5 separate regions of the Homo sapiens genome follow, and regions 2, 3, 4 and 5 are each linked to region 1. The links are contacts of gene promoters, found by promoter capture Hi-C in blood cells and fetal thymus (Javierre and others, 2016). All regions are on one chromosome and are shown on one strand. Each heading gives the region's core, a stretch centred on a gene start or on the middle of the fragment in contact. The rest is flanking DNA. Distances are from core to core; before and after follow the strand shown.

What was found. Contacts are between HindIII fragments. The CHiCAGO score rates a contact against its expected background, and 5 or more counts as called.
Region 2: a fragment that was not itself captured here is called in contact with the fragment with the promoter of SLFN5 in region 1 in 6 of 17 cell types (naive CD4 T cells, activated CD4 T cells, total CD4 T cells and 3 more); the score reaches 9.5 in naive CD4 T cells.
Region 3: a fragment that was not itself captured here is called in contact with the fragment with the promoter of SLFN5 in region 1 in 1 of 17 cell types (total CD4 T cells); the score reaches 6.1 in total CD4 T cells.
Region 4: a contact is called between a fragment that was not itself captured here and the fragment with the promoter of SLFN5 in region 1, in 2 of 17 cell types (total CD4 T cells and naive CD4 T cells). The highest score is 5.6, in total CD4 T cells.
Region 5: a fragment that was not itself captured here is called in contact with the fragment with the promoter of SLFN5 in region 1 in 8 of 17 cell types (total CD4 T cells, activated CD4 T cells, non-activated CD4 T cells and 5 more); the score reaches 13.5 in total CD4 T cells.

What each region holds. Positions count from the first base shown.
Region 1 is chr17:35,238,725-35,244,321 of GRCh38, reverse strand. It overlaps SLFN5 (schlafen family member 5), which reads right to left and starts at 1,250. Exons shown (of 5, transcript NM_144975.4): 1 at 1,179-1,250. LOC105371932 reads left to right here and starts at 171. Exons shown (of 4, transcript XM_047437262.1): 1 at 171-211; 2 at 1,103-1,400; 3 at 1,497-1,696; 4 at 2,352-4,279. The coding sequence starts at 171. The coding sequence ends at 2,799. RefSeq lists enhancers at 207-835, 809-918, 1,439-1,498. The HindIII fragment of the contact is 6,062 bases long and covers 1-2,595 here.
Region 2 is chr17:35,595,132-35,600,410 of GRCh38, reverse strand. It overlaps AP2B1 (adaptor related protein complex 2 subunit beta 1), which reads right to left. Exons shown (of 22, transcript NM_001030006.2): 3 at 2,076-2,181. It also overlaps the pseudogene LOC100420062. Among named protein-coding and RNA genes, the nearest start is that of AP2B1, 10 kb to the right of the region's middle. The HindIII fragment of the contact is 5,699 bases long and covers 985-5,279 here.
Region 3 is chr17:35,639,569-35,645,006 of GRCh38, reverse strand. AP2B1 (adaptor related protein complex 2 subunit beta 1) reads right to left here. Exons shown (of 22, transcript NM_001030006.2): 11 at 5,247-5,412; 12 at 3,032-3,130. Among named protein-coding and RNA genes, the nearest start is that of AP2B1, 55 kb to the right of the region's middle. The HindIII fragment of the contact is 2,341 bases long and covers 2,942-5,282 here.
Region 4 is chr17:35,614,688-35,620,018 of GRCh38, reverse strand. The region is part of intron 5 of AP2B1 (adaptor related protein complex 2 subunit beta 1); the gene reads right to left. Among named protein-coding and RNA genes, the nearest start is that of AP2B1, 30 kb to the right of the region's middle. The HindIII fragment of the contact is 6,619 bases long and covers 13-5,331 here.
Region 5 is chr17:35,514,334-35,520,138 of GRCh38, reverse strand. The region is part of intron 2 of SLFN12L (schlafen family member 12 like); the gene reads left to right. It also overlaps the pseudogene TOMM20P2. Among named protein-coding and RNA genes, the nearest start is that of SLFN12L, 20 kb to the left of the region's middle. The HindIII fragment of the contact is 4,488 bases long and covers 1,542-5,805 here.

The DNA.
Region 1 (5,597 bases), core at 1-2,500:
GACAAAGGATCCCCTTCTGGTGCAACCGAGCCCCTCAAGATTTCAGCACCCCAACATTTTTAGTGATGAAACCATGAAAATTCCGATGAGGCCCTTGCTTATTTGCATATGTTAACTACCCACTTTTTGCCCAATATTCCTTTTTCTAGCAATATAATTATAAACTGCTGATGCACCGTTTCTTTGTCAAGCAGGAGGATATAGCTTCAGAGTCAAGAAAAAAATTTTGCAGAAGGAATGAATGCCTTTAAGGGCATTGTGACCAGCTGCTGACGCCCAGAAGTCTGGTGGTTCAAGATGTAATCTGAGACGAAGAAAGACTTTTCCCCGAGGTTCCCTGAAATTCCCCCTCCCTTACTTCCTGGTCTCATAAAAACTCCCCACTACTTCTTTTTGTTAGGGTGGATTTGAGAGATCTTGACCTCTTGCCTTCTCGCTTTGGCCAAATGGAATAAATCTTCCTCTGTCTCCAAGCATCTGTGTGTCAGTGTTTGGCATCAACAGCACATCAGGTTCCTGAGCCTGAATTTGGGCTTCGACAACTCGGGCTCCCGGGACACATGCAAGAGGGAAACGGAATCACACCGCAGTCTCAGCCACTGCGGATATGACCAACTAGGGCTCTAGTTAGTCACTGTATGGGGGATACAGGGCTTTGTGGGCTACCCTAGTAGCCTGCCCCTGTTGTTACAGTTTGAAGACTGACGTTCCAAGCCAGGGGCTTATAGGCAAGCCTCTGGAACAAAGCCTCTTGTAATAGACTGGACATTGGCCCTATTTGTCCCCAGGCCACAACCCATTTAACTTCATCCTCGGGAGCCCCGATTTCGTCGTTTTCCCTTAAGTCCTTCGTGCTCCTGAACCGTGGGGAAATGTTGCCAGGTTTGGTTTGCTAAGATGTAGGCTGCGCTGGGTCGGCGCCTCTCCCTCCTCCCCAGCTCGCCCCGCGTTCCGAACCTCCCAGCTCCCGGGTCCTCTGCCACTAGCTGTCGTTGGAGGTGCTCCTGAGTCAACAAACTAAATCTCCCCAGCGGGAAAGACTCTCTCCCGGCAGCGCCCAGACCTGGGGAGCTGCAGTCGCCGCACCTTGTCTTCACCACAGCCCAATAGGAGAACCCGCGCAGACCGGGGGGAGGTTTGGGGAAGGCCTGGGCAAAGAAGCGCGGGGGATTCATTACCCGCTGGGTTCTCCTCGGCAGCGCGTCTCCCTCCGGGAGCAGGCAACGGAGCCTCCCAAGTCCAGAGCAGAGAACCTGACCCGGCGGGATCCCGGGCTTATATCAGCTGAGTTCCGTGACACCTCCCGGGGCGGGACATCGCGCAGGAGACAGACAGAGGTACAGCCCAATCGCATCGTTACGTGGAGCCGGAAGCCCACTCTTGCAACTACAACAGTCTTGGTAAACCTTGGGTGGACTGGGGAGAACTGAGGAGGGGAAGCGCTTTTTTGTTGCTTCTCTGTGTTTTCTATTTTATTTTATTTATTTTATTTTTAGATTTTCAGTTCTTATTTCACCCAGGGAAGGAGACCTGGGTATCCACCCCATGTCCTCCAGAGAACTTCCCTGGCCCCGCTCGGAGTCTTCCTGGGACGCCACAGGCTCGGAGAGCGCTCCGCAGGTTTCTCCCCCGGCGCCTCCAAATCTTTCGATTCCTACTCGAATTACTCCGTCAGCTGCTGGAAGAGGGGCAAGGGGTATGGCGAGACGCGTTGGTACATGGGGCACTGGGGGGAAGGGAAAGCCTCCCTCCTTCTCCTAGTAATTCGAGAATGTTGCGTCCGCCTCCTTTCTTTTGCTGGCGCTAGGGGCTCGGACCAGCACCTGCCAGGCATAGGTGTGGCCACTGGGGCGAAACCTGGCAGGCTCTGGAAACAGCGTTTTACTGACAGGAAAGAGAAACTGTTCTTTGTATTCATCACCCACCGCAGACTTCCTCACGCCCGGGTCTTAGGCGGGGCTGTCAGATTTCAGTGTGTTTCTCTTAATTCTAGTACTAAATTTGTACTGGGCGCTGGCGAAGGGCCTGGCTCCGCCACGCGCGGCCCTCTCGAACTGCCCGTGGGTACGGCGCGCGCTGCTGCCCTGTGTGGCCTGTGCGGGGAACCCGAGGGCCGAAGTGGGCCCCGCCGCAGCACAGGGGGACAAGAGAACCAGGAGCGGGCTGCCTGGGGGCAGATTCGAACCCGTGCTCCCAGCGGATAGAAGTAGCACTTGGGGACTCCTAAAATATTCAGCCCAATCCTGATTCCAGCTGCCCTCTCTAGGCACCTTTCCTCTACCCTTCTTCCAGTTTACAATTCTGGTGAGTAGATGTTTCTCTATCTCTTCTCTTCCAACTCCTGCGCCCAGAGCCAGGAGGACTTCTGGAGCCCGCCCAGCAAGACCCTCTCTCTCCCATCTTCTGCTCAAGGGCTCGAGGTCTCAGTGGACAGAGCTGAAGAAAAGCCGTCTATGGAGCCTGCGCCAGGCGCAGACTGGGTCGTCGCAGTCTGGGTCGTCGCAGTCTGGGCCGGGGCGCTGGAAGTCTTACTCACTTCTCAAGAACCCGCAAGGGATCAGGCCTGACCCTTTGCAAGTGACAGAATCCAAAGCTTTGAGCTCATGGGAAAGTGGCTGGAAAGAAGGTCACTGTAGGGCCGCACAGGTCTCTGGCGAGGCTACCCAAGAACATTTAAATCCCTGCCCAGAGAAGAAGAGGCTCCAGCTGTCCTGCACCTTCCTGGGAACTGGCAGTCCCTCCGCGCAGGGGTTCTGCAGCGACCGGCAGCGCGAGGAGACAAGGATGGTGGCCAGTTAACAGAAAATCAAGGCAGCGGGAAAGGTCTGGAAAACACCACCTACTATCACCTCTGGAGCCTGGGATTATGGGATAAGTTTTCGATTTTTAAATGTATTGTCAAATAGCTAAAGTACACGGAAAGTGCGAAATAATAGTAAATTGAACACCTGTGTATTCACCACACAGCTTAAGCAATAACATTAGCAATATTTGGGTACCCAGCTGGTCTCATTCCCTCATTCCACTTGTCCCCTACTCACCTGATAGCCAGTACAATTTTATGAATTTAAAGTTACTAATTCCCATGCAACTGTTTATACTTTTAGTAAATGTGTTTATGTCCCTCATCAACACATGACACTGATTCAACACATGTATATGCGTTTAAGCTGCATGTAAATGGCATCATGTTGGCCAGGTGCAGTTACTCACGACTGTAATTCCAGCACTTTGGAAGGCTGAGAGGGAAGACGGCTTGAGGCCCAGAGTTTGAGACCAGCCTGGGCAACATAGCAAGACCCTATCTCTAAAAAAAAAAAATTGTTTGTTTGTTTGTTTGTTTGTTTGAGACGGAGTCTTGCTGTGTCACTCAGGCTGGAGTGCAGTGGCGCAATCTCGGCTTGCTGCAATGTCGGCCTCCGGGGTTCAAGCAATTCTCCTGCCTTGGCCTCCCAAGTAGCTGGGACTACAGGCACATCCCACCACGCCCAGCTGATTTTTGTATTTTTAGTAGAGACAAGGTTTCACCATATTGGCCATGCTGGTCTACGAACTCTTGACCTCATGATCTGCCTGCCTCGGCTTTCCAAAGTGCTGGAATTACAGGTGTGAGCCCCCGCGCCCAGCCAAAAAAATTGTTTTAAATTAGCTGGGTGTGGTGGTGCCTGCCTATGAAGTCCCAGCTACTCAGGAGGCTGAAGTGGGAAGATGGCTTGAGCCCAGGAGTTGAAGGATGCTATGAGCTCTGATTGTGCCACTGCACCCCTGCATGGGCAATAGAGTGAGACCCTGTCTCTTTAAAAAAAAAAAAAAAAGTATCATATTGTATGTGTTCTGTAGAACTTGCTCCCACACTTTAACATTTTGCTTTAAAGATTTGTTCATGTACTTAGATCATTCCTTTTCACTGCTTTATGAGCTGAATCATTTCTGCTCTTCTTTCCATCCATACCCATTGGTCTCCAAAGTATCCAGGCCTCCCCAAAAGTTCCTGCAGGAGACCTCAGTTCCACTGGCTTTCAGGTCATTATTGTTCCAGCACTACTTCTCCATTTCTGGTTCCAGCCCTTCTCTCCCACATTCTCAAGCTTCTAGAGGGTCATAAGAGAGGAAAAACGCCAAATGCCTTTGATAAAATGTTGCCTTTCCAGTGGTATGCATGTTTGTGTGGAGTGGGAGGGAAGTGAGGGCAGATGTGACTTACTCTCAGCATTAATTCAAGTTTAAAAGTAAAATCTTTAGGTTTGCCTTGTCCAGTAAAAAATGCCAAGAGCCATAACTGCTCATTCTCTCTCTCTCTCTCTCTTCTCTCTCTCTCCTCTCTCTCTCTCTCTCATACACACACTTGGTTAATGCAATATTTACGTTGTTTTTGCTTCAACAAACTAAAGAGGAGAAGAGAGTTGGTAGGTTAAAGGGGCAGGTTATTCTTTTTTTTTTTTTTTTTTTTGAGGCAGAATCTCGCTTTGTCACCCAGGCTGGAGAGCAGTGGCTCGATCTTGGCTCGCTGCAAGCTCTACCTCCCAGGTTCATGCCATTCTCCTGCCTCAGCCTCCTGAGTAGCTGGGACTACAGGTGCCCGCCACCACACCCAGCTATTTTTTTTTTTTTTGTATTTTTAGTAGAGACGGGGTTTCACTGTGTTAGCCAGGATGGTCTCAGTCTCCTGACCTCATGTTCCGCCCGCCTCGGCCTCCCAAAGTGCTGGGATTACAGGCGTGAGCCACTGTGCCCGGCCAAAGGGGCATGTTATCTTATTAAGGGCAGGCAGTCTCTCACAGAAAGAATCACTGTATTAGTGTAGGGAGAATCACTGCCTAGGTCAGCCGTGTGTCAATGACCTGTGTCACTGTCCTCAGTCTGCACAGTGAGACTGGAGGCTGCATGCCATGGTCTACAGATCCCTCACTACAGAAAATTTGCTTCAGCATTCTCCGTGAGAGTCACAGGGAGATTGATTATGGGGGTCAATGCTCAATGGCATCATGGCTGGCCAAGCTTTTTGCAGAAACTTTTACTAGGGGACTGAGGATTATAGCAGCAAGCATCTTAGCATAGAGCCTTATCTGTGTTTCCACAGACTATCTTTCAAACCCAAGCTACTTGTTTATAATATTCACTTTTCAGGCAAAAACATATTTTCCACTTTTTTTCTTTTCTTGATAAAAAGTTTAAAAAACAAAATTTGCATAAACACGTATATGATGTTTCTTAGGAACAATGTTTGCCATTTGACAAAGTGTGGTGAAATTTTGTCAGAACAAGTTTACTTGAAGGAGGGATGAGACATCCTTTATCAATGTTCATATGAATCACACACATCAGAGAGAGTGGGAGGGAGAATCTTGGTTCTCTGGCACTCCCAGTACCCACATTGAGATCCGAGAGTGTCCTGATGATTTTCCTGTCTCAGTAAGTAATTAAGCTTTTCCTGAAGGAGCTCAGTTAAGTCCAAGCTTAATTTCAGTCAAGTCCAATGTTTAAGTTGCTTTTTCAGCTACATGAAATGAAAGTGTGACTCAGAATTTTCTCTCTATATCCCCTCAGATCTTTAGCACACTGAGGGTAATTACAGAGTCTCAAAGCATATCCCCACA
Region 2 (5,279 bases), core at 2,585-5,084, 350 kb before region 1:
TTCTTGATGTTACACTAAAACTAGACAGCCCGGGAACAGTGGCTCATGCCTGTAATCCCAGCAGTTTTGTGAGGCCAAGGCAGGTAGATCATTTGAGGTCAGGAGTTCGAGACCAGCCTGGCCAACATGGTGAAACCCCGTCTCTACTAAAAATACAAAAATTAGCCGGGTGGTAGTGGTGCACGCCTGTAATCCCAGCTACTTGGGAGGCTGAGGCAGGAGAACCGCTTGAGCCTGGGAGGCGGAGGTTGCAGTGAGCCAAGATAACGTCACTACACTCCAGTATGGGTGACAGAGTAAGACTCTGTCTCAAAAAAAATAATGATAAATAAATAAAACTAGACAAATGGTTGTTTTCCTCTTTCTGAGTCCACACACTGTAGTTTCTTAAAAGTTAGTTGCAATATAGAATCTGAAGCCGTATCGATAAACTTTTTGTACTTGATTGTATTAAAATCCATTCATTTACATTCTATTTTGTTTTTTTGTTTTTTGATTTTTGAGACAGAGTCTTACTCTGTTGCCTAAGCTGGAGTGCAGTGGCACAATCCTGGCTCACTGCAACCTCCGCCTCCTGAGTTCAAGCAATTCTACTGCCTCAGCCTCTAGAGTAGCTGGGATTACAGGCACATGCCACCATGCCCGGCTAATTTTTTTGTATTTTTTTTTAGTAGAGACAGAATTTCACCATGTTGGCTAGCCTAGTCTCGAACTCCTGCCCTCAAGTGATCCGCCTGCCTCGGCCTCCCAAAATACTGGGATCACAACCGTGAGCCACCACGCCTGGCCTCCACACTTTATTTCGAATAGATCTTTTATCCATGCATAATTTTGTGATATACATATGCTCTGGTCATTTGGAAAAATATTGGTTCACTGAGCTATGCTGACACATTTCATTATAAAACAGCAAATAATCACAATCATTAATTTCACCACCAATCTCCTCAGAAAAGTCTTTAAGCATTAGGAAGCTGTCAAGCTTATGATGGGAGATACAAATTTTCCAAAATTCTAATTTTTTACTTTAAAACCTGAAACGTATCCATTGTCAATTTTTTTCCCTTGAAGTGACAGGTTCACTTTGTTCATTTTTGAATAAAATATCTCCCAAATACCAAAGTCTGATTAAATATAGTTTGTCTGTCAATCATTCTTTCACATAAAAATGGTGTTTGCAGTTCAAACAACTGCACAAGGGTTTTTTCTCAAGTCGACCATTGCACTGCTACGCAGCAGAAGAGATTTATGGGTAATCCCTATTTCATCAAACACAATATTAAAAAGGTTCAAGTTTTAATAAAACAAATTTTTACTGCTCATGAAGGACATTCCTAAGTGAAACTGCTCTTTTTTAGCACATGGTGTTAAGGAATACAATGACTACCATTATGGTTGGCACCACTGCCTTCATTCATGCTGAGGCACCAGCAGTTTTACCCACCACTGCTTTGCACCATCACTGTAAACATCCAAATAGTGAAAAAGGCAAGTAACATCTAAGTATTATTATGAAAACAGCTTTGACCTCACGGACCCCCCGAAAGGGTCTTAGGATAATCCTTAGGGGCCTGCATATAGTCCTTACTTATTTCCAAATGGTCTTAATTACAGAAATAAAAAATAAGACTACATGGATTTGGTTAACATTGATTTTCATCTTGAATCCAGCAATTGAATGTACAGTTGTAAAGTTGAGGGCAGTGGCTTGAGCCAGTTAAAGATCATGTGAACTTATGCTTCTCAGTGTATTTTTATCATCTTCTAAAACGACCTCAGCAAAAAGATTTGTAACTGTGCCAGCTCTCAGGAGGTGTTATGCTAGATCTGAATGCAATGAAATCAAACTCGTTTCACTGTTCTAACACAAACACACACACACCCCATAACAAACAAACAAACAAAAAGTAGAGCATTAATACAAAGGCAACTGCACTTCCTAATGATGTTTTTAGTGGGACAAACCCATTCTTAGAGGTTCTATGATTATGATACTTTTAAAGGAAAAGCAGTAAAGGCCATAAGATGGGGTATGGACCTCTGAAGTGATCAATGGCAAGGGTGATTACTCTTACCTAACATCCTTCCCCACGGTCATAGCAGCAATCACTTTCTTCACAGCCTCCTTTCTCTTTTCTTTCTTTTCATTGTTGAGTTCAGCTTTTAGTTCAAATATTTCTCCTGCAAGAGATGAGAGCAAACTGGTAAGGTTCCAGTACCACAGACTTAGAGCAGAATACTACACTATGTAATAACCAATACCAGGATAGCAGGGCAGCAACTAAAATAAGATTTTAAAATTATAGAATATATAAAATTCAAAGCCCTAGAATATTACCTGACTCACTGACAAGGAAGCCATCAGTAAGTTTTAAAAATCTTTTAAATTATGGCCAGAGAGGAAGGTGCAATCCAGATCTTCAAGAACCACAAGAGTGGGAAAAACCAAATCTCATTATATCTAGCTACAATGGGGAGAGAACAGTATATGAAGGATGATCTTCCATCAGAATGTTAAAGTCTGGAGGAGAACATAAACGTAGGTAGGGAGCAGGCGCGTATTACCTCATTTACCCACGCTCGGCTTTACAGATTAAGAAATGAGGCTCAAAGTTCACAGAGTCAGTGACAAAGTTGGGCTTAGCACTGTGTCTCCTGACTCTTGAATGCAAAGGTTCTCAGCCCTGGCCACACACTAATATTACCTGAGAAATACTAAATATAGCAAAGTACAGGCTCCACTCTGGGCCAAATAAATCATAATGTCAAAGAGAACTCATATTTATACCTTTAAGAGCTCCACCAAGTGACTCTAACGCACACCCAATGTTGAGAATCACTACTTTAATCAGTACTTTAATAAATCAGTGGGCTTTAAGGCCCTTGCTATTCAATCAAACAAGAATAATCTTGAAACCAAGAATGGTACACAATGGAGTCATTTCCAAAGGTACAATCTTGAATGACTGCTTAGGCTCCGCACTGTAAACTGTCAGGGACTGTAACCACTATTTTAAGGCCTGGTCTCCAGGCTCACCTATCTGCAAGAAGCCGGAACCAAAATAAAAAAGAAAGTAACAACCCTAATATTGTTTAAAAGAAACGGAAAAAAAACACTAAGTCCATGAAAAAGAGGTTGACTACTCCCATCTCAACTTTCCATCTACATCCTCCAGCTCATCTACCATACTGCCTCAAAAGACTTTCCTCCACCTTCAAGACTGTTCCTGTCGTTCCTTTCAACCAGATCTCATTTACCAGCATAGAAACAGTGGGGACAGTCTCCGCTTCCGGAGGTCGCTACTGCTGCCTCAGTGGCCCCGGAGCGGGGGCGCCCAGGGGTCCTTCGCCCCCGGCCACGGCCCCCACAACGGGGCTTCGCCGCCACCTGTGTCCGAGCTGGACCGTGCAGGCGCCAGGCTCCTCTCCGAAAGGCGCACGAGACAGCTTTCTTCTCCTGGTTCCACAATGGCCTCCTGGCATAGGGCATCGGGGTTATCTCCTTCATGCAGAGTGACATGGATCACGAAGCAGCATATGGCTTCTTCCTGCTGGGCGGCCTGTGTGCGGTGTGGGGCAGCGCCTGCGGGGCCTGGCAGCGCTGCGGGGGCCCATGCAGCTGACGCTAGGGGGCGCAGCTGCGGGCGCTGTACTCGCCACCAGCCCGCTCTGGGTGTGCGCCGCCGTGGGCTTCTACACCGGGCAGCTGGAGCTGGACGTGAAGCTGGTGCTCGAGGGCGACGGGGCGGCCTCCGCGGAAGGCCCTGATGAGGCAGGCTGGCCGCCACCCGAGTGAGCGACATGGCCGCCGGGCCTGGCAGGCGCGGGATGACGGCGCCCGAGGACTGGGACATTAAAACCTGACCTCCCCTCCTCCAAAAAAAAAAAAAAGAAAGAAATAGTGGGGACAAACACTACGTGATTTGCCTGAAACCATTATGTGGAAAGGATGAAATTAGTAAGACACAGAAGTAGAGCACTTTTTCGTTTCAATATCCATGGCCAATAAGGCAAAAAAATTGTTCCAAAATTTCTATTTAATCAACAGCTACAAAAGTAGCATAGCAAGAAAAGCTGGGCCCTTTAAAGAGTCATTCTTCATAGGACTCTTCACCATGTCCCATCCTGCCAAATCCAGCTCTTAGAGTTCCTCTCATTCACTTCCGGGAACAGTGAAGGACAAACGGCGGGGTTTCAGAAAGTCTGAATTGTGAACAGCAGCAGGTGTTATAGAATCAAAGCAGGATGTAACAGAAATTATTCCAATTCCAAAAGCATAAATTTAAAGAATATGTTTCAGTGGCAGTTCTGGTGGGTGTTGCAGGAAGTACAGGGAACACAATCTATCAATTTTTTTTAAGTATGATGTTTATTAGCAGTGATTCAATCTGCAGTCTCAAACTTTTACAAATGCCTGAATTAAAAAAAGGTCACCAGGACACTTTTCAAGAGTAGGTTTGAAGAATTAGGAGAGTTTTAAAATTATAACTATTTAATTGTAATTGTATCCCTTTATATAATTATAGACATTTTGTTCGTCAAAGCACACAAAATGCTAACAGAAGAAGAAATAAACATATTTCCAAAAGAAAATCAGAAAAAGCTGAGACTGAATGACAAGTGGCTAATGGCTTTTGTGAGGTGTAAGTAATAAAAATAAGGAGGAAAAAGTTGGGCAGGACCAAAGAGGGGTACTAAAAGAGGCAAAGTCATATATTCTACAACTTTATTAAATTCCTATATTTTCTCCCTCCTCCTCCCCCCAATCAAATCTACCAAGCACTGTTAGCAGCTAGCAGTAGTTCTCAATCATGGCTGCACATTAAAATAATCTGGGGAGCTTTCTTTTTAATTTTTTTCTTTTGAGACAGGGTCTCTCTCTGTTGCCTAGGCTGGGGTACAGCGGCACAATCACGACTCACTGCAGCCTCAACCTCCTGCACTCAAGTGATCCTCCCACCTCAGCCTCCCAAATAGCTGGGACTACAGGTGTGCACCACCGTACAGGGCTAATTTTTAAATTTTTTTTCATAGAGATAGGGTCTTACCATGTTGCCCAGGCTGGTCTCAAACTCCTGCACTCAAACAATCCTCCTGTCTCAGCCTCCCAATGTGCTGGGATTACAGGCATAAGCCACCATGCCTGGCCACCTGGAGAACCTTTAAAATCCTCACACCCAGACCATATCCAGGACAACTGAAATCAGGCTGAGGTTGAGACCCAGGCATCAGTATTATTTCAAAGTTCCCTGGCTGAGCAATTCTGATGTGTTGCCAAG
Region 3 (5,438 bases), core at 2,863-5,362, 400 kb before region 1:
AGCCTGGAGTGCAGTGGCATGATCTCAGCTCACTGCAACCTCTGCCTCCTGGGCTCAAGCGATCCTCCCACCTCAACCTCCCAAGTAGCTGGGATTACAGGCGTGTGCCACTATGCTCCGCTAATTTTTGTATTTTTTGTAGAGATGGGATTTTGCCATGTTGCACAGGCTGGTCGAATTCCTGAGTTCAAGTGATCCGCCCGCCTTGGCCTCCCAAAGTGCTGGAATTGCAGGTGTGAGCCACAGCACCCAGCAGCATACTTACTGTTTTATGATAACTTCTCAGACTTCATTAATTAATTGGACAGAAAAAGCAAGCCTCAGCCAGGCTCTGTGGCTCACACTTATAATCCCAGTGCTTTGGGAGACCAAGGCAGGAGGATCACATTAGATCAGGAGTTCAAGACCAGCCTGGCCAACATGGTGAACCCTCATCTCTACTGGAAAAAAAAAAAAAAAAAATTAGCTGGGCGTGGTGGCATGCACCTGTAATCCCAGCTACTCAGGAAGCTGAGGTAGGAGAATTGTTTGAACCCGGGAGGTGGAGGTTGCAGTGAGCCGAGATCACGCCACTGCACTCCAGCCTGGGTGACAGAGCTAGACTCAGTCTTGAAAAAAGGCAAGCCTCGAGAAGTTGCTTATTATTTATAGTATGAAATAATCATCCACAAAGACCTTAAAACTAGCAAACACACATATACATATGGGCTTATGCTCAATATTGCTTCAGGCAGGGAATAGGTATTCTCCAAGTCATTCTTAACCTTCAGACTAGAGAGGAAGCATAGCACAGTGGACAAGACCATGGGCAAGACCTAGAGCCAGACTATCTGAGTCTGAGTCCTAGTTCTGCCCCATAATAATTAGGCCTCTCTGAGTTTCCTCATCTATAAAATAGAAATCGTTTACTAACCCTTACTAGGATTAAGTGAGTTTCTAGCCTGTCCTGTTCTAGGAAGCTTATGAAAAATGCATCTAAGGCTAAAGAGCGTTAATTAAACCCAGAGTCAGGAAACTGCATGCCACAGTGGCCTACATAGTTTCCATGGGAGATTGTTAAATGTGATTCTAAGGTTTCAAACAACCAATATGGAAAAGAAAGCTGATCAGGCATGCTACACTGATACACAGAAAAATCCAAAACTTGTTAGAAATTTGATGGGGCTTCATAAAGAAGAAAACATAATGAAGTAAGTAATGACTCTGATAACAAGCTAACAACAGATCCAAATAGGGTAGTTTCCCATGACGACTGTTATTACTACAGACTGATAGTATTTTAGTATCAGCGTAATTTAGTAAAAGCAATTTTATTAGGGGTCAAAAACAATGCAGTCCAGGTATCCAGATGTCTATTAATAATGCTTGATTCAGAGGTGAATTTCAGACTATCTGTAAGAACAGCACTACCTTGTATCCTTTAAGCAATCCTTCCTAAATACTTTATCTCAGTCAAATTTTGATAAATACTTAAGAGGTAATGAGACTGAGTTTGAAGTCTGGCCAGAATTCGTAATACAGCTCTCCTATGGTGCCTGTTAAATACAATCACATAGGCTTTAACAGACAATGATGATAAGGTTGAGAACTTGTGAAAACAGAGGAAACTACTAAACATACTTGCTTGAATATTTACAGTAAGCAGAGAGGAAGAAAGGCCAAAATTCTCTTTAGAAATTGTTTTGACAGAATGTGAGCTGCTCTAATAATGTCATTCTATGTGACCACTTACAGCAAGCTTGTCCAACCTGAGGCCACATGTGACCCAATACAAATTCGTAAACCTTCTTAAAACATTATGAGATTCTTTTGTGATTTTTTTTTTTTAGCTCATCAGCTATTGTGAGTGTATTTTATGTGTGGCCCAAGACAATTCTCAATTCTCCTCCCAATGTGGCCCAGGGAAGCCAAAAGACTGGACACTCCTGACTTAGGAGTTTAAAATTAAAACATGAAACAGAGTACAAAAAAAAAAAAAAGGCTGTGGGGGGTGTGGGAGGAATAAAGAAATTGTTTTGAATTCATCTTAGAGATGCAAATGGGATCCAGGAAATTAGAATGCTCAATTCAATACAGATAATATTAACCACTGATGTTTATAATTGCTTTGCTTCAGGCAGAGGAAGATGCTTAAGAAAGTTTTTAAAATACTTCAAAAAGCTCATACAAATACATTTTTTTAAGTTGTAGTAACAGGAAAAATTATGGCTCAGAACTAGGCAAAGTACTGTGAAAGGGTTTTAAATTTTGATTACACACCAGTATAAAGGGATGACAAAGACAGAAAAATGGTAAACTGGATATCTGAATCATATTCCATTTGCAGACACACATCGTAACTCTGACAGCCTGCTAAAAAGCCGGCCTGTTAGCAAATCCATTTATGAACATTACTAAATCATCAATGGACTGATGATCATTATACTAGTTACACTAGAAAACCTAATTATTTTGATTTCTGTGGATCTAATATAATGACCTGATATTTAAAGCCAGCTGCCACTTTCCTGAGATCTGAATCCATCTAAACTTCTTTTCTTCTGACCTAAAAAAACAAATAATTCCAAGGAGATCCAAATATATCAAATAATACAAGGAAGCAGCATAAACACTTAATTTCTGTGAGAAAGGCAACTACTCTGGAAGGTAGAACAATGCATGAAACTTTACTGAGGCATCTATTATCTCCACATGGTACTTTCATTTGAAAGCTGAAATGAAGTCACAGTGAAGCAGGTACTATCAGATCACGTCATTTTCATCTAAGTATGTCCTTCACTAAACTAAGAGTCTAGGTTCAATTTTCATGAATTATGAAAACTGGAATCAGTCAACTCATTTAAAAGCCACAGAATTAGCTACAATTCAGTTGAACACGTAAAAAGGCATTGTTTTAATATTTTAACAGGATCTAAAGGCCATACTTCCTTCAAATAAAGCTTCCCCAAATGAATCCCCTAGGAAGAGTTTCATAATTTCCTACAATTTGAAACAAGACAAATCAACATCTTGCTTTTTCCAGATTTCTTACCTGTGTTGCCAAACTCAAGACCTGCTGGACTAGCTCCTGTGTTTCTGATGGTTTCTTGAGAAACAGCTTCACTATGGCAGTAAGCAGAGTGAGCTGCACCTAAACAGACATAATTTGTGATAGTGTGAAAGAATGGCACTGGCATTATTCCCTGCCATCATCTCCAAAGTGGTGTTTCCCCAACTATGAATTACTATGGAGCCTTTCTGATTTTGGTTAAGAGACAAAAGGCTGAAACTCAATCAATATCAACAACAGCAGTCAAAAGTATTCGTGGGAAATACAAAGGTATTCAACCGAAAACTCTACCCTTTTAACCTCGAAATGCATTTTTGGCACAAAATATTGCTTGTTTCTAAGACAGATAGTTACCTGTGTTTATTATTATTATTATTACTATTATTATTTTGAGACAAGGTCTCCCTCTATTGCCCAGGCTGCACATCCATAGCTCATTGTAGCCTCAAACTCCTGGACTCAAGCAATCCTCCTGCCTCAGCTTCCCAAGTAGCTGGGACTACAGGTGCAAGCCACTACAACTAATTTTTAAAATTTTTGTATTGTTTGTAGAGATGTAGTCTTGCAATGTTGCCAGGGCTGGTCTCATAGCCCTGGCTTGAAGCGATTCTCCCGCATCAGCCTTCCAAAGTGCTGGGATTACAGGCATGAGTAACCGAGCCTGGCTTGTATTTCTTAAAGTATATGTTAACATACTGATGGTGATAAAATTGGCTCCTGAGCAAGTCTTTCATTATTTACTTCTACCAAAAGCTACAATTTGGGGGGAATTATGGAATCATCTGTCGTACTGGGGCAAGAGCCAAGACAGTAGAATTATGTCAGATTACAGCCTATTAGGAGTTGGCTGCTAAACCACAAAGCTATTGACTTGTACATACTCCTTGAATTAGGTCTATTAAAATTGCTATAGTAGATTACATACATTATTTTCTATTTGCTTTGAGTACAAATGCCAAGAAAAAAGGGCTTAATAATTTATTGGCTTCCTGGTTCTGTGGCTCTAATTTTGGTAGGGGAAAGTGAGAAGCAGTCTCAGAATTTTCATCCAAAGATAATCTTTTCAAACCTCACCACAGCCTCTAGCGAAAATCCCTGCTGTAATGAGCCACAGCCATTACTAACAGAAATGTGTAGTCATTCTTAGGTGACAGAAAATAAAAAAGTAGTGGTAACTACTGCTCTAAGCCAGTGGTTGTCAATGTGTGGTTCCGGATTGCCAGCAGCAGCATCACCCTGAACCTTGTAAGACATGCAAATACTTAGGCACATCTCAGACCTACTGAGTCAGATACTCTCAGGGTGAAGCCCAGCAACATGTGCTTTAAAAATGCCCCCCAGGTGTTAATAATGCTCACTGAAGTTTGAGAACTACTGGTCTGAGTTATGTAGGTTTTTAACATTAGAAATCAGTAAAACTGGCCAGGCAAGGTGGCTCACACCTGTGATCCCAGCACTTTGGGAAGCCGAGGTAAGTGGATCGCCTAAGGTCAGGAGTTCGAGACCAGCCTGGCCAACATGGTGAAACCCTGTCTCTACTAAAAATACAAAAAATTAGTTGGGAGTGATGGTGAATGCCTGTAATCCCAGCTACTCGAGAGGCTGAGGTGGGAGAATCGCCTGAACCTAGGAGGCAGAGGTTGCAGTGAGCCACAATCCTGCCACTACACTCCAGCCTTGGCAACAAGAGTGAAACTGTCTCAAAAAAAAAAAAAAAAAAAAAAAAAAAATCAGTAAAACTGGCCAGGCATAGTGGCTCATGCCCGTAATCCCAGCACTCTGGGAGGCCGAGGCGGGTGGATCACCTAAGTTCAGGAGTTCAAGACCAGCCTGGCCAACATGGTGAAACCCTGTCTCCACTAAAAATATAAAAATTAGCCAGGTGTGGTGGTGCACACCTATAATCCCAGCTACTTGGGAGGCTGAAGCAGGAGAATCGCTTGAACCCAGGAGGCAAAGGTTGCAGTGAGCCAAGATCCTGCCACTGCACTCCAGCCTGGACAACAAAGCGAGACTCTGTCTCGAAAACAAAAACAAAAAATTAGTAAAACTGAGAAGAGACATCCCTGTTGGGAGAAAAATGAACATACTATATGTAAATACAGACACAGAAGAAACTGCCTATAACCTTTGCTTTCTCTGAAATCTCCCCAAAGACATCTAAAACTACTAGGATAGACAAGAGACAAGAACTTACCTGGGTGCTTTCATCGTGAAAACCCTCCAGGAAGCTTTCTAGTAACTCATCTGCATTGTCAATTCTTTCAGCATATTCTCCCACAATCCAAATCATAGCTGCTCGAGCATCTGGCTCATCCAGCGAGTCTAAGTTCTCACACAGAGTGGCGATGATACTTTCATACCTGATGAAAAAAAATGAACTATGGTT
Region 4 (5,331 bases), core at 2,073-4,572, 370 kb before region 1:
AGGCCAGAAGCTTGGGATCAGCCTGGCCAACATGGTGAAACCCTGTCTCTAATTAAAATACCAAAAATTAGCCAGGCATGGTGGTGCATACCTGTAATCCCAGCTACTCGGGAGGCTGAGGCACGAGAATCACTTGAACATGCGAGGCAGAGGTTGCGGTAAGCCAAGATCACACCATTGCACTCTAGCCTGGACAACAGAATGAGACTCTGTCTCCAAAAAGATAAAAGTAAAATAAAAAACTAAAAAAAATCCTTTATTCATCTTGCCTCCCAATTATGGTAAATTCTATTCTTGGGGAGACTGAAACTAAACATTCCCCACCCCTCACATCCCCTCAAAGAGCTAACCCAATTATGTATACTTTACAGAGATAGATATTAAACACAAACATATATATAAAAGCAGCACATGTAGATGTGTAAAATCATACTCAATCCTAGACAAATCTTTCTCCGCCTTAATTACAGACTTCTCTTCAATATGATATTTCCTTATGGACCTGTGGAATCTGCTGGTTGTTTTTGTTTTTTTTTTAAATAGAAACAGGGTCTCACTATGTTGCCCAGGCTTCTCTCAAACTCCTGGCCTCAGGCAATCTTCCTGCCTTGGCCTCCCAAAGTGCTAATATTACAGGTGTGAACCACCATACCCAGCCTGAATTTTTAATGATAAGCAATTTGTATTTTTACTTACATTATACTAATAGAATGAGTTTTACAGAGATAAAAGACTGGAATAGCTAAAATGTATTGAATATTTACTTTGTGCTATTAATCCTCATAACAACTCTGAAGTAGCTGCTACTAAAAGCCACCTATTACAGATAACAAAACTGACTTAGAGAAGTTCAGTGACTTGCTTAGGGTCAACACAGCCAGAAAGGGATTCCTGCTTGAATCTGAACTCAAGGTCTGCATCTGATTCCAGTGTCTGAGTACTAATACTTGGTCTCCAGCATTTATAGAGCTTCCAAGACTTGTGAACTTCAACCAAGGGAAGGGAAAGAAGATTCAGAGTAGGGGAGGATAATATAATCCAAACATTATTTCCAGCAAAGGTGACATGTAGATTTATATACAAGGAGAAAAATGTATTCTACTTTATACATTTCAGAGATAATCATATCCTACAGTACTTAGGGAGGGAAAGATTTACTACCTAGCTATAAAATATGATTTATGATCTATACCTGTCTTATATGCAGCAGTTGAGGATAATAAATTTGACCTCATTTTGTTAAAAAAGGAGTGAGCTGGTACAGTAGGTATGGTTAGAATAAAAATGACCCTGTAAAAAAAAGGACTCTCAAAGGAAATCTAGATATAAACTGGGAGTGGAATATCACACACATAAGCTCACTTATGAGGAATCTCTCACCCATTTCCCTGTCCCTTAAAATGATTTTCACCTTGCACTCTAATTTCACTCATTTTCGTGGCCTTGGAACCTTAGAAACTTACCACTTTCCAGTTCAGTGACTTCTTCCTGTTAAGTAAATTACTATTTACAGGACTTTGATTTCCAGCAATGACCTTCAAGGTCACACACTATGAACAGATTTATGCTTCAGTTTTTCTGCTCAATTTACAATTATTTTGGCTGGTATCCCTGAAGACTTGAATAAAGTGAAAGAAGTAGAGTAACTGACCAAAACTATTATGAGGAAATACACAGGTGGTTTACATATTTTTGTTCTCTTCTAAATTAGCAGTGTTAGAATATTGCTATCTCCTTTACAGAATGACCTCAAATGACATGTGAGGCATAGGACAACATATTTGTTCTGAGAGTTTCAGTCATTATTATCTCCTTAAGGAGACAATGACTGCAGTACCAGTCAAACAAGTAAAACTTAGGGCTTATACTTTAATCCAAAACACTGTCTAGAATGCCAACTGTTAATATGCCTGCTACATTACAATCTAGAATATTCCATTTTTTCCCCATCTTCTTCCTTAGAATGAGAGGTAAAACTACCTAGTGAGCCAACACATCTCATTATGAAAAGAAAGTCTGATTACATAGTAACAAGGTTTACAAAAAATAAAATTCATTACTTAAGTGGTTTAAGATATGATTTAACAAAATTCAAGTACTCTCAAAGCCAAAACACTACAAATAAATATCGATAAACAAATAAAAGGCATGCCTATAACCATCACAGTTATTTGGACCATGGCCCCTAAAATTCATTAAAGCAAGCTGCAACTTGAACAAAATAAAACACTTATTATCACACCACTTATGATCTCCCCATTTCTAAGAGTAAAGTATTCCCCAGCCAAATTACAGCCTTGAGGTCATCTTAAAGTGACAAATGAGCCTTGATATACTGGCAAACCACCAAAACAACACACAACAGATCCAGCTTTCAGGAAGTTGCTGTTGAGAACTACTTTAAACGTACACCCTTGAATAATTACCTTGTAAAAGTAGTAAGTAGTACTCTTAGATTTAGCTTCATTTGTGGGTAAGTTGCCCTCAGAGCTTTAAAAAATTTAATCTTTAAAATTCTTCATCCTAAAAGTTTTAATCTTAACCTTAAAATTTTAATCTTATAAAATTAAAAAGTAAATTTTGCCACTGAAATACTAACCCTTCTAAAATTATTAATATCCGGCACTACAATCACTGTACAATATAGAATATATGTTTCTGCTGGGCATGGTGGCTCACTCACGCCTGTAATCCCAGCACTTTGGGAGGCTGAGGCAGGCGGATCACTTGAGGTCAGGAATTCAAGACCAGCATGGCCAACATGGTGAAACCCTGTCTCTACTAAAAATACAAAACTTAGCCAGGCATGATGGCATGTGCCTGTACTCTCAGCTACTCAGAAGGCTGAAGTGGGAGAATTATTTGAGCCCAGGAGATGGAGGTTGCAGTAAGCCGAGATTGTGCCACTGCACTCCAGCCTACGCGACAGAGCAAGACTTTGTCTCTTAAGAAAAAAAAAAGGATATGTGTTTGTTATTATTAGGGGCTTACTCCATATGAGGACCAGTATTAAGTGCTTTGCAAGCCCTCTGTCCTTTAATATTCACAACAATCCTACGATAGAAGCACTATTTGTAATCTCCACTTTGTAGATGAGGATGCTAAAATTTAGAGACACCACTCGTCTAAGAAATAGCAGAACCAGGATACAAACCCAAATCTATTTGGTTCTAGAGCCTGAGTTTCAACCACTATGCTATGGTGACTGGATGAAAAATGCCATTTCATGGTTGTAAAGCACTTTTCTGTTTTCGAGCTACCTTCAAACAGAGTAGACTGATGCATTATAAAAGGAAGTGACTAAACACAATTTGGTATTCCGGACTGAATCCTGGAATAGCGAAAGGACATTAGTGTTGAAACTGGTGAAATTCTACTTTGGTTAATAGTAACATCCCAATGCTAATTTCCTAGTTTTGGCAAATGTACCACGGTTACGTAAGATGTTAACATTAGGTGAAACTGACTGAAGCGTATATGAAAACTTTCTGTACTGTCTTTGTAACTTTTCTGTAAATTTAAAATTGTTCCTCTAAAAAATGAGGTATTTTGGCAGGGCGCGGTGGCTCATGCCTGTAATCCCAGCACTTTGGGAGGCCGAGGCGGGCGGATCACGAGGTCAGGAGATTGAGACCATCCTGACTAACACGGTGAAACCCCCCGTCTCTACTAAAAATACAAAAAAAATTAGCCAGGCGTAGTGGTGGGCGCCTGTAGTCCCAGCTACTCAGAAGTGTGAGGCATGAGAATGGCATGAACCCGGGAGGCGGAGCTTGCAGTGAGCCGAGATCGCGCCACTGCACTCCAGCCTGGGCGACTGAGCGAGACTCCGTCTCCAAAAAAAAAAAAAAAAAAAAAAAAAAAAAAAAAAAAAAAGAGATATTTTTTAAAACCTAAGTTCATAATAATATAAAACGACGTAATGATTTTTTAAAAGTGAAAATACACAGAAAATGATTTCCACAAAGCACATTATAAAAGGAAAACAAAAAGTGTTTGCTTTCTCTATAAGTAGAGACAGAAATACACTCAGACCAACTGGTGGGAAATTCAAGAGCTGGGAAGTTGGCCTCATATCAAAGCAGCCCCCAATGATTCCACTTACCCAAACTTCAATCCTGCAAAAATTAACAGCAGCTCCTTTTATAATATGAAACACAATTTGAGGAACTCAGATACAGACTGAATGTATTACCTTCAATGTTACTCTTATCAAGTGCTCACCACATACTGACATTATCATATGTGCCTAAAATTCTGCCAGCTCTAACTCCTTCATGGACATTTGATATGAAAAGTATTACACATTTTAAATTTCATTTATGTATAATATTTTAATTTTGTAATTGTTACTTACTAATATATATTTAAGGATAACAACAATCCTATAATTAACGTACTAAATAAAGTTAAGTCATTAAGTTTTTCTATGCATTCTGGGCCTACCTTTAATAGGCAGTTTAACATAGCCTACATGAATACCAAATATATTCTGACAAAAATTCTTAGAAAGAGATCTAGACAGATGGCATTTTTTCAATATTTTATCATCTTAGGTTGACAACAAATCACCACACAAGTAAACTTCCTAATGCCTAAATGAAGATTATAACAACCGGAAGGTGCATAATGTTAGGCCACTTCCTCAAGAATAGCTGCAGTTTATTAAGCATTTACCATATATCAGGCAAAGTTTAAAATTTTAAATACATTATTCTTTCATCTTCAAAATAATTCACTAAAATCGGCATTATTACCTCAGTTTTACATATAAGACAACTGAAGTTCATTTTAAATAACTTGTTCAAAGCCACATTTCTAGTAAGCAGCCAAGCCAGGACTCAAACAGCAGCCACTCTGGCTCTGAAGCCTCAGTGCTATTTCCATAATCCAGGGTTTCACAACCTTGGCATTATTAACATTTACTGCTGGATAATTCTTTGTTGTCGGGGGACTGTCCTGTACACTGAAGGATGTTGAAAACATCCCTGGACTCTACCCGATATATGCCAGTAGCACTCCTCCCATCAGGTTTGACAACCAAAAAAATGTTACTAGACATTGCCAAATGTCCTCTGGAGAGTAGAATCACTCCTGGTTGAGAACCACCATCATAATCCCATGCTGTGTCTACGTGCTGGCTAGCACATAGTCAAAATACATACTGCTTTCTGAGAAGAAAAATGTTATTTTTCATAAAATGGTTTTCAAGCAAAAGTTCAAATTAAAAGAAGCTGGAAGTTTAACTACAACTTTTGGTAAAGATTATATTTGGCCTGAATTGAGGCTATTCTGAGAGCATGCTGCTTATGCAGAAGAACACTTAACAAA
Region 5 (5,805 bases), core at 2,536-5,035, 270 kb before region 1:
AAAAGAAAAAGCTTGTGGCTATTAGAACATAGTTTATTCTTTAAGTGTAGGGACGCGTGACTCAATTCTTGCCTGTCAAGGCTTTAGGTCCTATTTACAACTTGGTATCTTATTGCCACGAAGAGACTGTTCCATCGGTCTTATGATGTTTATTTTAACCTGAGTGCTGGTCAGTTGTTGTGTCTAAACTGCAAAAGAGAGCGGTTATAATGAGGTGCGGCTGACCTGCCATTCCATTATGCTTGCAAATTCAACTTTTAAGGTTTTTCTGGGGTCCCCTTGGCCAAGAGAGGGTCTGTTCAGTGGTTGGGGGGCTTAGGATTTTATTTTTCATACTCAAGATTTTCAAGAGGAAGACCACAGGGATGAACTGTAATTGTCATCATATCATATCAGGGGTGTATGCGATCGACATGTCTTATCATGTGGATATTAACCTTGACTGTATGAGTCAGAAAGTGTTTGCCAGGTTGATCCACCGTATTTACTTTTCCTCCCTCAGGTGTCATAAGTGCAGTTCACACTCAAAGGGTGGGGATTGAAGTGCCACTTCCTTGATGTGGGGAGAGAGGATGTAGCTATTATACATAAGTTATTTGGAATTCTTCTGTATAGGAGACTTGTCTTTTCTCCATTTACTCATTCATTCAATCTTTTACTTGTATGAATGAACTTATAGGTATTTATTTAATATTTTGGGTTATATTTCAATATTACATTATTTAGTTCCTCAAATTGTTCTAGTATTAGCCATTGGAAGCTCTTTCTTTTTTATTTATTTTATTTTGCTTTAAGTTCTGGGATACATGTGCAGAACGTGCAGGTTTGTTACATAGGTATACATGTGCCATGGTAGTTTGCTGCACCCATCAACCTGTCATCTAGATTTTAAGCCGTGCATGCATTAAGTATTTGTCCTAATGCTCTCCCTCTCCTTGCCCCCCTACCCTCTGACAGGCCCCAGTGTGTGATGTTCCCCTTTGTGTGTCCGTGTGTTCTTATTGTTCAACTCCCACTCATAAGTGAGAACATGTGGTGTTTGGTTTTCTGTTTCTGTGTTAGTTTGCTGAGAATCATGGCTTCCAGCTTCATCCACGTCTTTGCAAAGGACATGAACTCATTCTTTTTTATGGCTGCATAGTGTGTACGTGCCACATTTTCTTTATCCAGTCTATCATTGATGGGCATTTGGGTTGGTTCCAAGTCTTTGCTATTGTAAATAGTGCTGCAGTAAACATATGTGTGCATGTGTCTTTATAGTAGAATGATTTATAATCCTTTGGGTATATACCCAGTAATGGGATTGCTTGGTTAAATGGTATTTCTGGTGTTAGATCCTTGAGGAATTGCCACACTGTCTTCCACAATGGTTGAATTAATTTACACTCCCACCAACAATGTAAAAGTGTTCCTATTTCTCCACATCCTCTCCAGCATCTGTTGTTTTCTGACTTTTTAATAATCGTCATTCTAACTGGTGTGAGATGCTATCTCATTGTGGTTTTGATTTGCTTTTCTCTAATGACCTGTGATGGTAAGCTTTTTTTCATGTTTGTTCGGTGCATAAATGTCTTTTTTTTTTTTTTTTTAAATACAGTCTCACTCTGTCTCCCAGGCTGGAGTGCAGTGGCACGATCTCGGCTTACTGCAACCTCTGCCTCCTGGCTTCAAGCAATTCTCCTCCCTCAGCTTCCCGAGTAGCTGGGATTATAGGCACCTGCCACAATGCCCAGCTAATTTTTGTATTTTTGTAGAGATGGGGTTTCACCGTGTTGGCCAGGGTGGTCTCAAACTCCTGACCTCAAGTGATCCACCCACCTCGGCATCCCAAAATGCTGGGATTACAGGCGTGGGCCACCACACCTGGTCATAGATGTCTTCTTTTGAGAAGTGTCTGTTCATATCCTTTGCCCACTTTTTGATAGGGTTGTTTGTTTTTCTCTTGTAAATTTGTTTAAGTTCCTTGTAGATCCTGGATATTAGACCTTTGTCAGATGGTAGATTGCAAAAATTTTCTCCCATTCTGTAGGTTGCCTGTTCACCCTGATGATAGTTTATTTTGCTGTGCAGAAGCTCTTTAGTTTGATTAGATCCCATTTGTCAATTTTAGCTTTTGTTGCAATTGCTTTTGTTTTAGTCATGAAGTCTTTGCCCATGCCTATGTCCTGAATGGTATTGCCTAGGTTTTCTTTTAGCGTTTTTATGGTTTTGAGTTTTACATTTAAGTCTTTAATCCATCTTGAGTTAATTTTTGTATAGGTGTAAGGAAGGAGTACAGTTTCTGTTTTCTGCATATGGCTAGCCAGTTTTCCCAGCATGATTTATTAAACAGGGAATCCTTTCCCCATTGTTTGTTTTGTCAGTTTTGTCGAAGATCAGATGGTTGTAGATGTGTGGTGTTATTTCTTAGGTCTCTGTTCTGTTTCATTGGTTGATGTATCTGTTTTGGTACCAGTGCTATGCTGTTTTGGTTACTGTAGGCTTGTAGTATAGTTTGAAGTTAGGTAGTGTGATGCCTCCAGCTTTGTTCTTTTTGCTTAGGATTGTCTTGGCTATATGGGCTCTTTTTTGGTTCCATATGAAATTTACAGTAGTTTTTTCTAATTCTGCAAAGAAAGTCACTGGTAGCTTGATGGGAATAGCATTGAATCTATAAATTACTTTGGGCAGTATGGCCATTTTCACAATATTGATTCTTCCTATCCATGAGCTTGGAATGTTTTTCCATTTATTTGTGTCCTCTCTTATTTCCTTAAGCAGTGGTTTGTAGTTCTTGAAGAGGTCCTTCACGTCCCTTGTAAGTTGTATTCCTAGGTATTTTATTCTCTTTGTAGCAATTGTGAATGGGAGTTCACTCATGATTTGGCTCTGTGCTTGTCTGTTGTTGGTGTATAGGAATGCTTGTGATTTTTTTTTCTCTGCCCCAGCCCTAAAATCAGCCATTTCTCCAAGAAGCTCTGGTTCCTTTTACTGAAGAATGGCAAAAACCAAGATCTGTGCCCTCACTGCTATTTGTTTGTTTTCTTAATTTGTTTATGTTGACTATTCTGGCTTTTGCGGGATGTCACTGTATATGACTGCAGTGCCCATGGCACACATTAGCCATGTGTAGAAAATTAGTGCTTGCTATGTGGCTGGTGCAAATTGAGATGACAAGTAAGTGTAAAATAGACACTGGGATTCAAAAACTTAGTATGACAAAGAATGAAAAATTACATGAATCATTTTTAAATGGATTACGTGTCAAAATGATAATATTTTGGAAATATTTAGTTGAATAAAATATTTTATTAAAAGTAAAGCTGCTTATTTATTTTTACCTTTTAAAAATGTGCTTACTATATTAAAATCACATTTATGTATTGCATTATATTTCTGTTGGATGGCACTGGTATATGGATCATTAAAATAGGTCTGCTCATTGTTAAAATTAATCTGCTCATCATTAGACTAGACCAGTGGCTCTCAATAGAGTGGAGGGGGTGGTGGATTTTGCCCTCCAAGGGACATAATATCTGGAGATATTTCCGGTTGTCACCCCTTGAGGGGAGTGTGTTAATGGTACCTGGTGGATAGAGGCCAGGGATACTGCTGAACATCCTAGAAGGTACAGGATAGCCCCCCACAACAAACAATTTTCCAGCCACAAATCTCAATAGTGTCAAGGCTGACAAATCCTGTACTACAAAAAGAAGGAGTATAGTTCTATCCTTCTTAAACACGTATTCCAGAATGGAAAGGCAGAACTGGTTAGAGTTTTAATCTGATCAAAGTGATGGAATGTTTTGCTTTAGGACAACTAATGCCTGGTGCACTGAGGTTCCTATATGCTGGGGAGCTGGAAAATGGAATGAAGAATCTTAGAGGATTCCATGCCCCTAGTAGGGACCCCAACCTTTTTGATGCTGAAGTAATAGAGTTGCAAAAACTGTTTGTTCTTGTGAAGTGGTAGTGATATGTGAAGGACAACTAAGGGAAATAGTTTCCTCAGAAAGATAAACTATCTTCAGTGGATATTAGAAAATAAGGATATTAATGTCTCTCAAATTCTATGGTCCTATATTGATCAGTTTGAAGATGTTACTAAGTGTTTATATAAATCTAGTAGAGGGGGTCTCTAAGAATCCCAGGGAAAAAATAAGAAATTAAGCCCAAAACATCCAATTCTTTAAATATGCTAACTCTTTAAGAAACACTGGCGGGGTGCGGTGGCTCACGCCTGTAATCTCAGCACTTTGGGAGGCAGAGGCGGGTAGATCACGAGGTCAGGAGTTCGAGACCAGCCTGGCCAACATAGTGAAACCCTGTCTCTTCTAAAAATACAAAAATTAGCCGGGTGTGGTGGTGGGCTCCTGTAATCCCAGTTACTCATGCGGCTGGGTCAGGAGAATCGCTTGAACCTGGGAGATGGAGGTTGCAGTGAGCCAAGATCGTGCCACTTCACTCCAGCCTGGGCAACAAAGAGCAAAACTCCATCTCAAAAAAAAAAAAAAAAAAAAAAAAAATTGCCGGGCGTGGTGGCCGCTCCTGCAATCCCAGCTACGCAGAAGGCTGAGGCGAAAGGATGGCTTGAGTCTGGGAGGCGCAGGTGGCAGTGAGTTGAGATCACGCCACTGCACTCCAACCTGGGGTGACAGAACGAGAATAGGTCTCAAAAACAAACAAGCAAAAAATCAAAACAAACAAATAAACTAAAACAAAAGAAACACTCTCCAGGCATAGAGAAAATAATATAAACTCAGTGGTAATCCTATACACATGACTCTCTCTCAAACTTGCACAAATATAGTAAATGAACTAACGATTTTAATCTTCAGAACCCTGGATCTTGCTTTCCAAGTGCCTGTCCCGCCGGCGTCGGGTCTGAGCGGCTCCCTGTGCTCGGATGGTTTGTGGGCAACCGCTCCTTTCCCCCACCGCCGCAGTCCACACTCAGCGTTCTGGGGAAGAGGCTGGGTCGGAACGGAGCCATCGCCGCTGGAGTATTCGGGGCCCTTTTCATCGGGTACTGCATCTACTTCGACCGCAAAAGACTGAAGTGACCCCAACTTAAAGAATAGGCGTCCAGAATAAAGAAAGAAACAGAAGCTGGCCGAGGAGTGAGTTGAGCTTTCCAAGTTAGCTGACCTTAAAGATGCTGAAGCTGTCCAGAAATTCTTCCTGGAAGAGATATAGCTTTGGTGAAGAGATCCTAGCTAAAGGTGTAGACCACCTGACAAATCCAAGTGCTGTGTGTGGACAGCCACAGTGGTTACTGCAAGTGTTACAACAAACTCTTCCACTACCAGTGATCCAGATGCTTCTGACAAAGCCCCTACCAGTTAATCAGAGACTTGTAAGTGCTGGCGCTTGGCCAAAGACGATGTGGAATGAGAAACAAATGTCAACATAATAAAATCTCAGTTAAAATACTTGAAAAAGTCTTAACTTGGTAGTTGAGCAGAAGGGCAAATATGCTTGTTATGAACTATTCTACATTGAAATCTACCAAAGTTAATGTTTACTTTGTGTAAATCCATTTGGTTCATTTATTTTTCCCAGTGAAAAGCATATTTTGATAGAGATCTTTTCATTTTTTAAGTACACTATGAGCTACTGAAATATCACAGATTTTGTTCATTTCTAAAACATGAGATTAAAATGTGCATATGGCCTTGCTTATGTTGAAAACACCCAGGGCTCAGTGTTGAAAGATAGGCAGAAAAGTGTAGGAGAAACTGAAGAATGCACATTTTTACGGCTAGTGCATTATGCTATAAATCAGAAAATTTGATAGAGACTTGATCGTGTTTGTGAAAACTGAGG